Regions from separate parts of the Homo sapiens genome. Here all the other regions are linked to region 1. Evidence: promoter capture Hi-C in 16 types of primary human blood cells and fetal thymus (Javierre and others, 2016). All regions are on one chromosome and are shown on one strand. The core of a region is centred on a gene start or on the middle of the fragment in contact, and the rest is flanking DNA. Distances in the headings are between cores, read along the strand shown. Region 1 holds the start of IL2 (interleukin 2). Region 2 overlaps TRPC3 (transient receptor potential cation channel subfamily C member 3). Region 3 overlaps TRPC3 (transient receptor potential cation channel subfamily C member 3). Region 4 overlaps TRPC3 (transient receptor potential cation channel subfamily C member 3).

Region 1 (3,373 bases), core at 636-3,135:
AGAGATAAACTAGGGGTCTAAGAACTCAGTTTTCTACAGGGTCCCAGAAGTATAGCCATATATTGCCCCATTCTCTAATGGAAATAGCCAGAGAAATAGAAATATCAAGACTGGAGAACATCAAATACCTCATTGGAAAAGCCCCCACATAGGAAAATGTGTGGGCTTGAATTCTTCCATTCTGGAAGGGTAAAGGCCTGAGTGATGATGCTGGGATTAGACACTGAAACTCTTTAGAGAAGCAAAACAAGTATAATAAAGCTGTACTTTATTATATTAAATAAATAACACACAGACTACCAAATAGCCTGCCCCTTATAACAGCGTTAATGTGATTTTGATCTGAAATGTATAGAGACATTTTGCATTTTTTCGTATAAAAAGTTCATGAGATTTGGCCCTAATCTGACCTTTTCTTCATTTTTTTTTCTACTTGAGGGACTATAATCTTTATTTTTAAATTTGTTTTATATTCTCCGAACATTACCTAACGCATAGAAAACTCTTATTGAACCATTTTTCTCTGTTCTTTGTAAAATATTACATTTGACTGTTCCTTAGACTGCTTTAATCATTCCTGCCTATGCACCCTCCTCAAAATCCAGTTTAAATTAATTGTTCCTTATTCAAGATTCCTTATATCCACCTCCCTTGGGGCAGCAATCACCTATCACCCAGGACTACACTTGTGTATGTACATATCTTCCCTATTACAAATCAGGTTCTTTGAAAAAATACAAATGGTAAGAGAGTGGATTTTTGGAGTCAGAACATTCTCTTTTCAAATCCTTCTTCTGCCCCTTACTGGCAATAAGGGCTGAGTGACCTAGAGCAAATTACTTAACTTCTCTGAGCCTCAGTTTTCTAATCTGCAAAATAGGAGCCATCACTTCACAAGTCTGTAAGACTTATATTAGACTAAGTGCCTGCCTGTACACTGTTCTCTTTTCTCTCTTTCTATATACCTGAAGGCATTATAGGTGCTAGATGTCTGTTTAAAGACCAGACAATATTGTCTTAAAAAAACAAACAAAAACACAGACAATACCATCTTTAAAAAAAAAAAAAAAGTCCAGGTAAGAAATAAATAAGGCCATAGAATGGAAGCTTTACAAGGACTCTCTCTGAGACAGGATCTCCTCAAGTGTCCCCAGGTTAAATTAGAAGTATATATCCGTACAATTGTTCAGCCAGTTTGTGCACTGTACTGAGGATGAATGAACACCTATCCTAAATATCCTAGTCTTCTGACTAAAAACAAGATCATATTTCATAACGATTATTGTTACATTCATAGTGTCCCAGGTGATTTAGAGGATAAATAAAAATCCATTAAAGAGGTAAAGACATAAAAACGAGAAACATGGACTGGTTTACACATAACACATACAAAGTCTATTATAAAACTAGCATCAGTATCCTTGAATGCAAACCTTTTTCTGAGTATTTAACAATCGCACCCTTTAAAAAATGTACAATAGACATTAAGAGACTTAAACAGATATATAATCATTTTAAATTAAAATAGCGTTAAACAGTACCTCAAGCTCAATAAGCATTTTAAGTATTCTAATCTTAGTATTTCTCTAGCTGACATGTAAGAAGCAATCTATCTTATTGTATGCAATTAGCTCATTGTGTGGATAAAAAGGTAAAACCATTCTGAAACAGGAAACCAATACACTTCCTGTTTTATCAACAAATCTAAACATTTATTCTTTTCATCTGTTTACTCTTGCTCTTGTCCACCACAATATGCTATTCACATGTTCAGTGTAGTTTTATGACAAAGAAAATTTTCTGAGTTACTTTTGTATCCCCACCCCCTTAAAGAAAGGAGGAAAAACTGTTTCATACAGAAGGCGTTAATTGCATGAATTAGAGCTATCACCTAAGTGTGGGCTAATGTAACAAAGAGGGATTTCACCTACATCCATTCAGTCAGTCTTTGGGGGTTTAAAGAAATTCCAAAGAGTCATCAGAAGAGGAAAAATGAAGGTAATGTTTTTTCAGACAGGTAAAGTCTTTGAAAATATGTGTAATATGTAAAACATTTTGACACCCCCATAATATTTTTCCAGAATTAACAGTATAAATTGCATCTCTTGTTCAAGAGTTCCCTATCACTCTCTTTAATCACTACTCACAGTAACCTCAACTCCTGCCACAATGTACAGGATGCAACTCCTGTCTTGCATTGCACTAAGTCTTGCACTTGTCACAAACAGTGCACCTACTTCAAGTTCTACAAAGAAAACACAGCTACAACTGGAGCATTTACTGCTGGATTTACAGATGATTTTGAATGGAATTAATGTAAGTATATTTCCTTTCTTACTAAAATTATTACATTTAGTAATCTAGCTGGAGATCATTTCTTAATAACAATGCATTATACTTTCTTAGAATTACAAGAATCCCAAACTCACCAGGATGCTCACATTTAAGTTTTACATGCCCAAGAAGGTAAGTACAATATTTTATGTTCAATTTCTGTTTTAATAAAATTCAAAGTAATATGAAAATTTGCACAGATGGGACTAATAGCAGCTCATCTGAGGTAAAGAGTAACTTTAATTTGTTTTTTTGAAAACCCAAGTTTGATAATGAAGCCTCTATTAAAACAGTTTTACCTATATTTTTAATATATATTTGTGTGTTGGTGGGGGTGGGAAGAAAACATAAAAATAATATTCTCACTTTATCGATAAGACAATTCTAAACAAAAATGTTCATTTATGGTTTCATTTAAAAATGTAAAACTCTAAAATATTTGATTATGTCATTTTAGTATGTAAAATACCAAAATCTATTTCCAAGGAGCCCACTTTTAAAAATCTTTTCTTGTTTTAGGAAAGGTTTCTAAGTGAGAGGCAGCATAACACTAATAGCACAGAGTCTGGGGCCAGATATCTGAAGTGAAATCTCAGCTCTGCCATGTCCTAGCTTTCATGATCTTTGGCAAATTACCTACTCTGTTTGTGATTCAGTTTCATGTCTACTTAAATGAATAACTGTATATACTTAATATGGCTTTGTGAGAATTAGTAAGTAAATGTAAAGCACTCAGAACCGTGTCTGGCATAAGGTAAATACCATACAAGCATTAGCTATTATTAGTAGTATTAAAGATAAAATTTTCACTGAGAAATACAAAGTAAAATTTTGGACTTTATCTTTTTACCAATAGAACTTGAGATTTATAATGCTATATGACTTATTTTCCAAGATTAAAAGCTTCATTAGGTTGTTTTTGGATTCAGATAGAGCATAAGCATAATCATCCAAGCTCCTAGGCTACATTAGGTGTGTAAAGCTACCTAGTAGCTGTGCCAGTTAAGAGAGAATGAACAAAATCTGGTGCCAGAAAGAG
Region 2 (3,036 bases), core at 522-3,021, 540 kb after region 1:
AAGAATTCTGTTCTAGAATAATAAATGTGTGTAAGAATTCTATTCTAGAATACTTGCAAAGCCCCAATTTCTCCTTTCTTTCTTCCTTTCAAAGGCTTCCTTCATGGCCGGGCACGGTGGCTCACACCTGTAATCCCAGCACTTTGGGGGGCCGAGGCAGGTGGATCACGAGGTCAGGAGATCGAGACCATCCTGGCTAACATGGTGAAACCCTGTCTCTACTAAAAAACATACAAAAAAATTAGACGGGCGTGGTGGCAGGCACCTGTAGTTGCAGCTACTAGGGAGGCTGAGGCAGGAGAATGTCATGAACCCGGAAGGCGGAGCTTGTAGTGAGCCAAGATCACGCCACTGCACTGCAGCCTGGGCGACAGAGCGAGACTCCGACTCGAAAAAAAAAAAAAAAACAAAAAAAAACCCAAAAAACAAAGGCTTCCTTCGTTTTCAGTCAACACTCACCCATCTTCATTCTCACAGGAGGAAAAATATCACCCCACCCACTCCTGCTGCTTCCTTTTCCCACCATCTCATTTCTAGTCTCCAAGCAAAACCACGTCTTGGGTTATAATGATGCACAAACCCTGCCCACTCTGGCACAGAGGTAGTCCACAGCCATATGCAAGCCATTGGGATTTCAAAGTAACTTTATATGTTATGGACTCCCCCACCCCCTGATAACATAATAAACTCATATTTATTCAAATCAACCCATAATTCCACCAAGGAAACCATTCTTATCTAATTGTAAGCCAATATTGGCCGCATATGAGACTCAGGAAGTCTTTTTTTTTTTTTTTTTTTTTTTGAGACGGAGTCTCGCTCTGTCGCCCAGGCTGGAGTGCAGTGGCGCGATCTCGGCTCACTGCAAGCTCCGCCTCCCGGGTTCACGCCATTCTCCTGCCTCAGCCTCCCAAGTAGCTGGGACTACAGGCGCCCGCCACTACGCCCGGCTAATTTTTTGTATTTTTAGTAGAGACGGGGTTTCACCGTTTTAGCCGGGATGGTCTCGATCTCCTGACCTCGTGATCCGCCCGCCTCGGCCTCCCAAAGTGCTGGGATTACAGGCGTGAGCCACCGCGCCCGGCCAGGAAGTCTTTTTTCTACCCTCTGCCCAAGACCTACTCCCAGCTCTGGTTCTGAGTCTATTGTCTTCTAACTGGGCTCAGGATTCCCAGAGATCTGGTCTTTCCTAGAAATCAAGGCATGAGTTCAACACAGGCCTTACAGAACTCAAGGACAGTTAATCCAGAAAATGAATATATAAAACACCAGAATAGGAGATACATGACCGTGAATTTAATGTTTATGTTGGAAAGGACTTTCTCATATAAAAGCGAAGAAATCTCCAAGCAAAAATGCAAATAATCTGGCCACATATAATTTAAAACCTCTGTATGACATCAGAAAGATTATAAACAAAAAAGTGAAGGGCATACTAGGAAAAATGTTTTTTCGATTGTATCTCACAAAAGATTGATCTTCTTAATATCCCAAGAACTCAAACAAATTTGTAAGGAAAACATCCAGGGCCCTGTAGAAAAATCAGCAAAAGATTTGAATAGGCATGTCACAGAAGAGAAAATTCAAATGGCTAACATGCATATTTAAAATTTTCAGACCTTTTAGTGATAAACGTATACTAATGTACAAATACCATTTTCCTTCTCTTAAACTAACAAAGAATAAAAATTTACAATTCTCAATGCTGATAGTAAAAGAGCAACCATCTGCCTGCATCTTTACTAACAGGGAATGGATTTTGAAGATTATTCATCCTAAAATCTGTTTTTTTTTCTTTTTTTTGAAATGGAGTCTCACTCTGTCTCCCAGGCTTGAGTGCAGTGGCGAGATCTTGGCTCACTGCAACCTCCACCTCCCAGGTTCAAGCAATTTTCCTGCCTCAGCCTCCCGAGTAGCTGGGATTACAGGCACCCATCATCCATGCCTGGCTAATTTTTTGTTTTTTTAGTAGAGACGGGGTTTTACCATGTTGGCCAGGCTGGTCTTGAACTCCTGACCTCAAGTGATCCGCCCACCTCAGCCTCTCAGAGTGCTAGGATTATAGGTGTGAGCCACTGCGTCCAGCCTAAAATCATTTTTAAGGGGTCTGTAAGGTAAATTTTAAAACTGGAAGGATAGTGAACACTATTACTATTTATAGAAATACCTATATTATTCTTTGAAAAGAGAATGGAATACACTGGAAGATGAAATTTGATTTTCTGAAAATGGGTACAAGAAAATTAAATTTTAGGCAAAAACACTAATTTTGTTTAATTAGAATAATGGACTATTTGCCCCCCACCAAAAGTCTTGAGTTCTAATTCTGACTCTACCTCTATCCTGCTCTGTGATGTGCAGCTGAACATTAATCCACTCCCCACCATAGAAATAACCAAAGTTCTACCTACTTCACCGTGAGCTATGTCTATTTTGAGAAAGTTTTTGACAAAAGATACTAGAGCTTGGTAGACCACTGAATCTGGAAAACTGGGCTCTCAGAAAGAGAAGGAGAACATTTCCTGAGTTCTTCGTTTCTGCTCTCCTATTAATATTTCCTCCATAGTAGGATTAGATTTAAATGTAGAAAAGCCATCCTAAAAAGAAACATGCAGCAGTATAAACAGGATAAAAGCATCCATTGTGTATCCACTTTCTGTGCAAAAAGTGTGCAGGGGAAGCCCAGAATTAAAGAAATGCAATGAGAGAGTGGTAAATACACCACTGAGACGTTGGAACGGGTGTGCTGGCCGGCACAGTCCTGTGTCCTGCACTGTGTGGCCTCTTGTCCTGGTCTTCCCCAGGCACCAAGAGATAACAGAGCATTTTGCACTCAGCAAGTTTGAAAATCCAGAAAACCTGTGCAATATAAGTTTTAGGTTTATATTTCACAAGTCATTGAGTTTTTAAAAGAAGTTGAATTGCCTAGTTTTTATTTACAAGAATATGTTCCTTTAAATTGTATGAATTGTGGCTCTAACAGTATCATTAAAAACAAATCCAGAGTTCCTACCATGATTTTACACAACAGTATTC
Region 3 (3,055 bases), core at 435-2,934, 520 kb after region 1:
GAGGTGACTTCCGTAATAATGCTCATGTATTGCAGTGTGCTAAGGAGCTTGTGATTCAACCCAAACACCCATGTTAGAAGCTGTTCTTTGTAGAACCAAAATGTTCTGACACATAAGCTCAGCATGCATTTTAATAGTGATACTTGGATTTATAACCCATTGTTCATTTTCTTATTCCCTAGCAGCATCATGATAAAGTAGCCAGGAAGACCTCTGAGCTCTAATCTTCTAGTTCTGTACTCCTCAGTGACCGTAAGGGAGGTAGCATTCTGATGAAGTCTTTAAATCTGCAGAATTAGTATCAATTGCCAAGTATTTTTGAACATATACTACATTGTATTAGGTACAGTAGAGATAATATGTCAAGAATAAAACATAAGATAAGGCACATAAAACATTTATCCTCAATTGAACTGAGGACATGATTGTCACAGGAGACAATAATCAAGGAGACAAAAATCAAGGAGATGAGGTAAAATTAAGTGTCTATATTTATGAGTAGACTACCTATATTACAAAAGCTTGGGCTGAAGTGGTCAGGAATGGCTTCAGAAAGGATCAAAAGACCCAACATTTCATACTGAACAGAATCTTGTGGGTCATATCGGCATTGCCCTGTGAAACGTGACCCTCTGTATACAGAAGTGTAATGTAAACTGGACCACTGATGGTAAGAAGGATTTGAATTGGCAAAGAGCAGAAATAACAGTGTGTTCAGAGAGGGAAACATAAGAGGAACATCCTGGAGGTAGGTGTAAAAGGGTCAAGAAATCACTCACAACTTGGATGGGCAGCAACGTGTAGCTCCTGTAATCTGCCTGCAACAAAAGTCTGTCTCCTGAGCCTCCCACTTACTGAGTAGGAGAGAAAACATTAAATGCCCAATCTGTGGTTCACATTAGTGTTTTAAATTTTGTTTTGTTTTTGCTTACTACACAGACACTCAACAAGTGAATAGTGCAATCAATAAATTAGGCAATTAAGTCAATTAAGCAATTAAGCAGTTACGTGAATTGACAAGGAGGGAAGGCTTGCTCTACATTTGGCAGGGATTTGGTCAGTTAGGACAGTGTCTCCCCACGTCTTGAGCCGGTGTGGAAGGGGCTTTTGCTTTCTGATTCTTGTCCCCCAATCTTCTAAAGGGCTCAGAGTCTCAGTGGCCTGTCTGTCTACCAGCATTCAGCACACTGCAGAAAGAGGCCGGGAGGCTGACCTCTTTTATCTTAGTTCGATACTATAAAGTAAATGTTTATTTGGATAAACTTGCTCAGGCTCTCGGGAACTACCCTTTCCCCTGCTCTTCTCTGTCACATCTGGCCCTTGGGGGAGGGGAGCTTATGTGTCCCTGGAGGGGGAAAGAGTTAGTGTCCTCTAACTCTTCTGGTCTCTGGGCACTGTTCTATGTCTACTTGAGTGCTGCTTGTCAGCAGAAGTAACTGGATCTTGGCTGACTTTCTTTTGTTAGAAACCCAGATATGCTCCCTCAAGTACTTGGTTTCAGCTCAGCTCCCACTGCTACAAATCCCAGCACCTGCAACATCTTCCATCCAGCTTACAGCACCAGCAATCTGTCCCAAGCCTTAGTGCAGGCTACCTGGCTCTCATAGCAGTGTCCACACCACAGAGGAGCTGAGGGTGGCTTGAGAAAGCTCTTTGCTTTTCCCATATCATTCCATTACTTAACCAGTACTTAAGGTACTTCCTCACCTTATTGAATCCACATCTTGACTTTTACTTCCCTTCTGTTATTTATTTGTCCTCCCAGGACAGTAAGCATCACGGCTTTGCTGTCAGAAGTGGGAGAGCTATCTTGTCTGCATAATGAGAGCACTTTATGATCAGGGTCCTTCAGGATGAATTAGAGGAATAAAGGAATTGAGAAAATCTTTTCATTAGACAGTTTCCCTTTTCTCAAATTCTGCTTGCAAAATCCTCAAAATCATTCATAAAAATACAAAAATCCCATAATTTTTTGCTTGTAAGAATCTGAACTTCTCCATGATCCTTTTCTTTTCACTCCTGTAAAATGTATCTTCTCGAACTCCCCTTGAACACACCCACCCAACTCTATACTGCACCACCCACCCTCCAGGCAGAGATGTCCTGAGTCAACCAGGGCAAAGATCCTGTATTTGAAAAGGCAAAAAAGAAGAGCACCTTAATATATTTTCAACAAATGTCCTTAATAGTACGGGAGTACCCCTTGACAGTACAGAAATGGCAGAATAATATGTTTACAGGATAGTGAAGAATGAATCTGGGGAACAAGGGAAGGAAGGTTGGCTAGGCAGGGTGGGGTGGGCTGTCACCATCCCTGAAAGTCATACAGACGAGTCTCGACTGATGAAAAGAGCAGTAGGGGTGTTACTGATGGTTTCCTGTTTTGGTTTTTTTTTTTAAAGAGAAGTGTGATATGGTGAAAACAGAGTTTATGAACAGCAAGATGCTGGGCATAGTTGTCATGTGTAAAGAGGAGAATCAGGTACAGCCTGAGGCAATGGAAAATAAGAGTCAGACAGATTCCAGGTTGAATCCCAGTTCTTCGTTATTTTACCATTTGTGTTATCTTTGGCAATTTCATTTGAGCTCAGTTTTGTTATCTATGAAACAGAGAAAATTATACCTGCTTCGTGGTATTGTTATGAGAGTTAAATATGATAGTGCATTGAAAACATTACATACATATGAGGTGCTCAGAAAAGTTTAGTTGCCTTCCTTCATGCCATCTCTGCTGGGAAGCTGTTACAACAACCCAGCTATGACTTGATAAAGATCTGGAGGCTGGTGCTGGCAATGAGAATTGGAAGGAAGCATTCAGTACAAGAAACATTCCAAAGCAGAAGCTTTAGAACTTTGTGACTGACATGATCAAAACAGTGAGTCATAGATGACCTTGAAATTTCTAAACCTGAATAATCAGCCTGAGATACAAATGTTAGGAGTGGGAGCTGCTTTAAGGAAGAAGGTGAGTTGGGGCATTTTAGAGTAACCAGGTGATAGACCACAGTATATGTGGGACCTGAGGTCAGGTGAGAGGATGGGATCTAGGAAGAGA
Region 4 (3,112 bases), core at 350-2,849, 570 kb after region 1:
CATGTCTATAGCTCCAGCTGCTTGAGAGGCTGAGGCAGGAGGACAGCGTTGAGCCCAGGAGTTTGAGGCAAGCCTGTGCAATATAGTGAGACTCCACCTCTAAAATTTTGTTAATAGAAATCAATTTAAAAACTAAAAAGATAGTACTAAATTGTCTTCAAAGTTGTCTGCAGTCTTGCCAGTAAAATATAAAAGTCCCCATTGATCCATATCCTTTCTAACACTTGGCATAACCAGATTTATTAATCGTTCTCTTTATTAGATGTAAAATTGTGTCTCCTTTTAGTCATAATTTGTATTTCCCTGCAACAGAGTTTGAAATTGTTTCTTAAGCTTGTTGACCCTTCACGTTTCCATTTCTGTGAAACATTTGTTTGTCTTTTGCCCATTTTAAAATCGGGTTATTTGAGTTTTTCTTATTGAATTAAAGTTCTTTATATATTTGGATATAAATTATTTTTAATTACAAGCATTACCAATATTTTCTCCCAGTTTATGGCTTGCCTTTTCACTTTCTTTATAGTATCTCTTTAAACAGAAATTTTAAATTGTAATGAAGTTGAATTTATCAGTCTTTTCTATTGTAATCAGAAGTTTTAATCTTGTTTTTTTAAAAATACAGGTCTACCCCAAATTTATAAATATACTCTCTTATATAATACGTTCTTTTAAGGGTTCAGAAGCTTTGTCTTTCACATTTAAGATGCAAATGGAATTAATTTTTGTGTTCATGGTATGAAATAGGGCTCCAATTTAATTTTTTCCATATGGGTAAACAGTTATCCTAGAAGAGCATTTATTTAGACTGAAAATAGTCACATATATTGCTATTAGAGAAACGTATGCAATATAACAAAATATATGGCATTTAGAAAACATAAAATATAATACTTACAGTAATTAGTATATATACAAATTTTAAAGAAAAGATATTGGAAGGGCATACACCAAAATGAAAACAGTGATTATCTTTGGCTGGTGAGGTTGCCAATGATTTCATTTGTTTATTTTGTTCTTCTGTATATTTTCCAAATTCTCTATATAGAGTATACATTGATGTATTTTTCTAAATACTGGGAAATAAGGTAGTGTCTATGGGTGATAATGTGGTGTCAATGTAATTTAAAAAGAAACTATTAGTTGAAAGAGGAGCCATGAATTCAAATCTTCAAGCTTAACTTCTTTTTAAAAGCTTCTTCCGTTTCTGAGGCAAAAAAAAAGTATTGGTGGATTATGCAGTAAGTCTCAGTAGAAGGCATTAAGAGAGTTAAGTTCTGAAACCTGCGTAATTTTTCTATACATAGTTATAAAATTTTTTTCTCCCCTGAGTTGTTTGCTTTACAGGTATGTAAGCCTCTTTGGAAAATAGGATTGGGGCACTTATGTATATCATTGGAGATCTAATCATTTACTTTTGCCCAACAGCAGATAATGAAAAGACTTATAAAGCGGTATGTTTTGAAAGCACAAGTAGACAAAGAAAATGATGAAGTTAATGAAGGTAAGCATCTCCAACTTAAAAAATATCCTTTTATAGCTAACTTAATGAACCTGGAAAACTTAATGTTGAGGCATATTTTAAAAATCCAATCCCAGGTTATAGTTTGGATGCCTCTAAGATGGGAGGAGGATCTTATGTTACGTTTCTAAAACTTCATCTTTTAAAATAAACAGTTATTTACAATATTGATCAGAGGCAATTTATCTCTACTCATAGTGCCCTAACTGATTCTTAGAATGTAAAGACTGACATCTTTCTAGGAGTTTTTTAATCCTTCTGACATAAGGTAGTCAGTAAGTATTGGTTACATTTTCAATGAGTTCACATTAGTGTTAACATTTTTCCAGTTAAGCAGATAAAAGAACAGTGACTCAAACAGAATTCATGTCTTCAGGAAAACCTCTGTTTTATTGTTCAGAAACACATTTTTAACCTGTTTTTCTTGTCTGGTGCGTCTCTTTTGAATTTCACTTTCCCCCCTGCCTCCTTACTTTAAGCAAGCTTATTTTTTTAAGGCATATTTGAGGCAGGGCATCTCTCTGGACTATAAAAATTTTTTACCAAAGTCTAGGATGTAGAGCTAAACACAGGCCCAGAGTTGGAAAGAAATCAACCAGGGAGAAATAAGTTGCCCTAAAAATGGAAACTGTACCTTCCAACACCAATGAGATGCCACTAAATCTATCTACACTGATAAAAGAGGAAAGGACTAAACTTAATAAAATTGTTCATAGGCTTTGAAGCCATTACTTGATTAATACAAGGAATGCATTTTAAATGTAAATCAATCCAATAGTGTATGTATGTAGAAGAGAAACCTGTGAATTTATAATCGATAACTAGCAAAAATCTAATCATGGTGACCTAATCAATCTGTCTCAGGAGAAAGGATTGGAATGAGGTTGTAGTTTAGAAAGCAGAAGTCTGATGAGTTGTACCGTAATCTCCATGGGGGGTGGAGAGGGAGGAACAAAGTGGGAAGAACTGTATGGCTAAAACGGCATAAAAAACAAGAAGCATTTCCCAAGCCCTTGCACAAAAGGGGAAAATCAATGAGAATTTGGAGTTTTGAACAAAGTTCTTACTAAGAAAATGTGTCATATAATCTCCTCATTTAATTAATGAGGAAACTAAAATCTGAAGAGTTTGAGTAACTTGTGTTTCCTGAATTGGCAGATTAAATATTTAATACAACACATAGGTTGTAGTCTCCCCATGAGTCGGGGACAAGGAAGAAAGGATAGTAGAAGGTGAAGTAGGGCAGGGGGTCTCCTGCGGTACTGAATGGTGTGAGAATCCACTCCTTCCACTGAAGTCTGCCTCATGATTTCAAATAAGATCAGTTTATTCCTTTTATATTGCCATATGCCAAAGGAAGCACTTTTTTTTTTTTTTGCCACAAAAGGGCTCCTCAAATGTTTTGTGTGTATTCCTGAGTTAGAATTCTTTTCAAATAAAAATGCTCTGACTTTTATATAATAGAAGAATATTGAAATTATACTTTAAAGCATATTAAAGATACCAGGAAATATCATCAAAGGTGTGTTTTAAATGCCATTTTATTATAAAAACCTAAGTCAATGGTTTGAAGAATCATTTCTTAGATTCAAG

Evidence for each region. Contacts are between HindIII fragments. The CHiCAGO score rates a contact against its expected background, and 5 or more counts as called.
Region 2: a contact is called between a fragment that was not itself captured here and the fragment with the promoter of IL2 in region 1, in 1 of 17 cell types (endothelial precursors). The highest score is 6.6, in endothelial precursors.
Region 3: a contact is called between a fragment that was not itself captured here and the fragment with the promoter of IL2 in region 1, in 1 of 17 cell types (endothelial precursors). The highest score is 5.9, in endothelial precursors.
Region 4: a contact is called between a fragment that was not itself captured here and the fragment with the promoter of IL2 in region 1, in 1 of 17 cell types (endothelial precursors). The highest score is 6.0, in endothelial precursors.

The regions. Positions count from the first base shown.
Region 1 is chr4:122,455,237-122,458,609 of GRCh38, reverse strand. It overlaps IL2 (interleukin 2), which reads left to right and starts at 1,885. Exons shown (of 4, transcript NM_000586.4): 1 at 1,885-2,316; 2 at 2,407-2,466. The coding sequence starts at 2,170. The HindIII fragment of the contact is 2,130 bases long and covers 1,110-3,239 here.
Region 2 is chr4:121,919,291-121,922,326 of GRCh38, reverse strand. All of the region lies in intron 3 of TRPC3 (transient receptor potential cation channel subfamily C member 3), which reads left to right. Among named protein-coding and RNA genes, the nearest start is that of TRPC3, 31 kb to the left of the region's middle. The HindIII fragment of the contact is 5,563 bases long and covers 1-3,036 here.
Region 3 is chr4:121,938,191-121,941,245 of GRCh38, reverse strand. The region is part of intron 1 of TRPC3 (transient receptor potential cation channel subfamily C member 3); the gene reads left to right. Among named protein-coding and RNA genes, the nearest start is that of TRPC3, 12 kb to the left of the region's middle. The HindIII fragment of the contact is 2,322 bases long and covers 524-2,845 here.
Region 4 is chr4:121,880,743-121,883,854 of GRCh38, reverse strand. It overlaps TRPC3 (transient receptor potential cation channel subfamily C member 3), which reads left to right. Exons shown (of 12, transcript NM_001130698.2): 11 at 1,426-1,501. Among named protein-coding and RNA genes, the nearest start is that of BBS7-DT, 12 kb to the right of the region's middle. The HindIII fragment of the contact is 810 bases long and covers 1,195-2,004 here.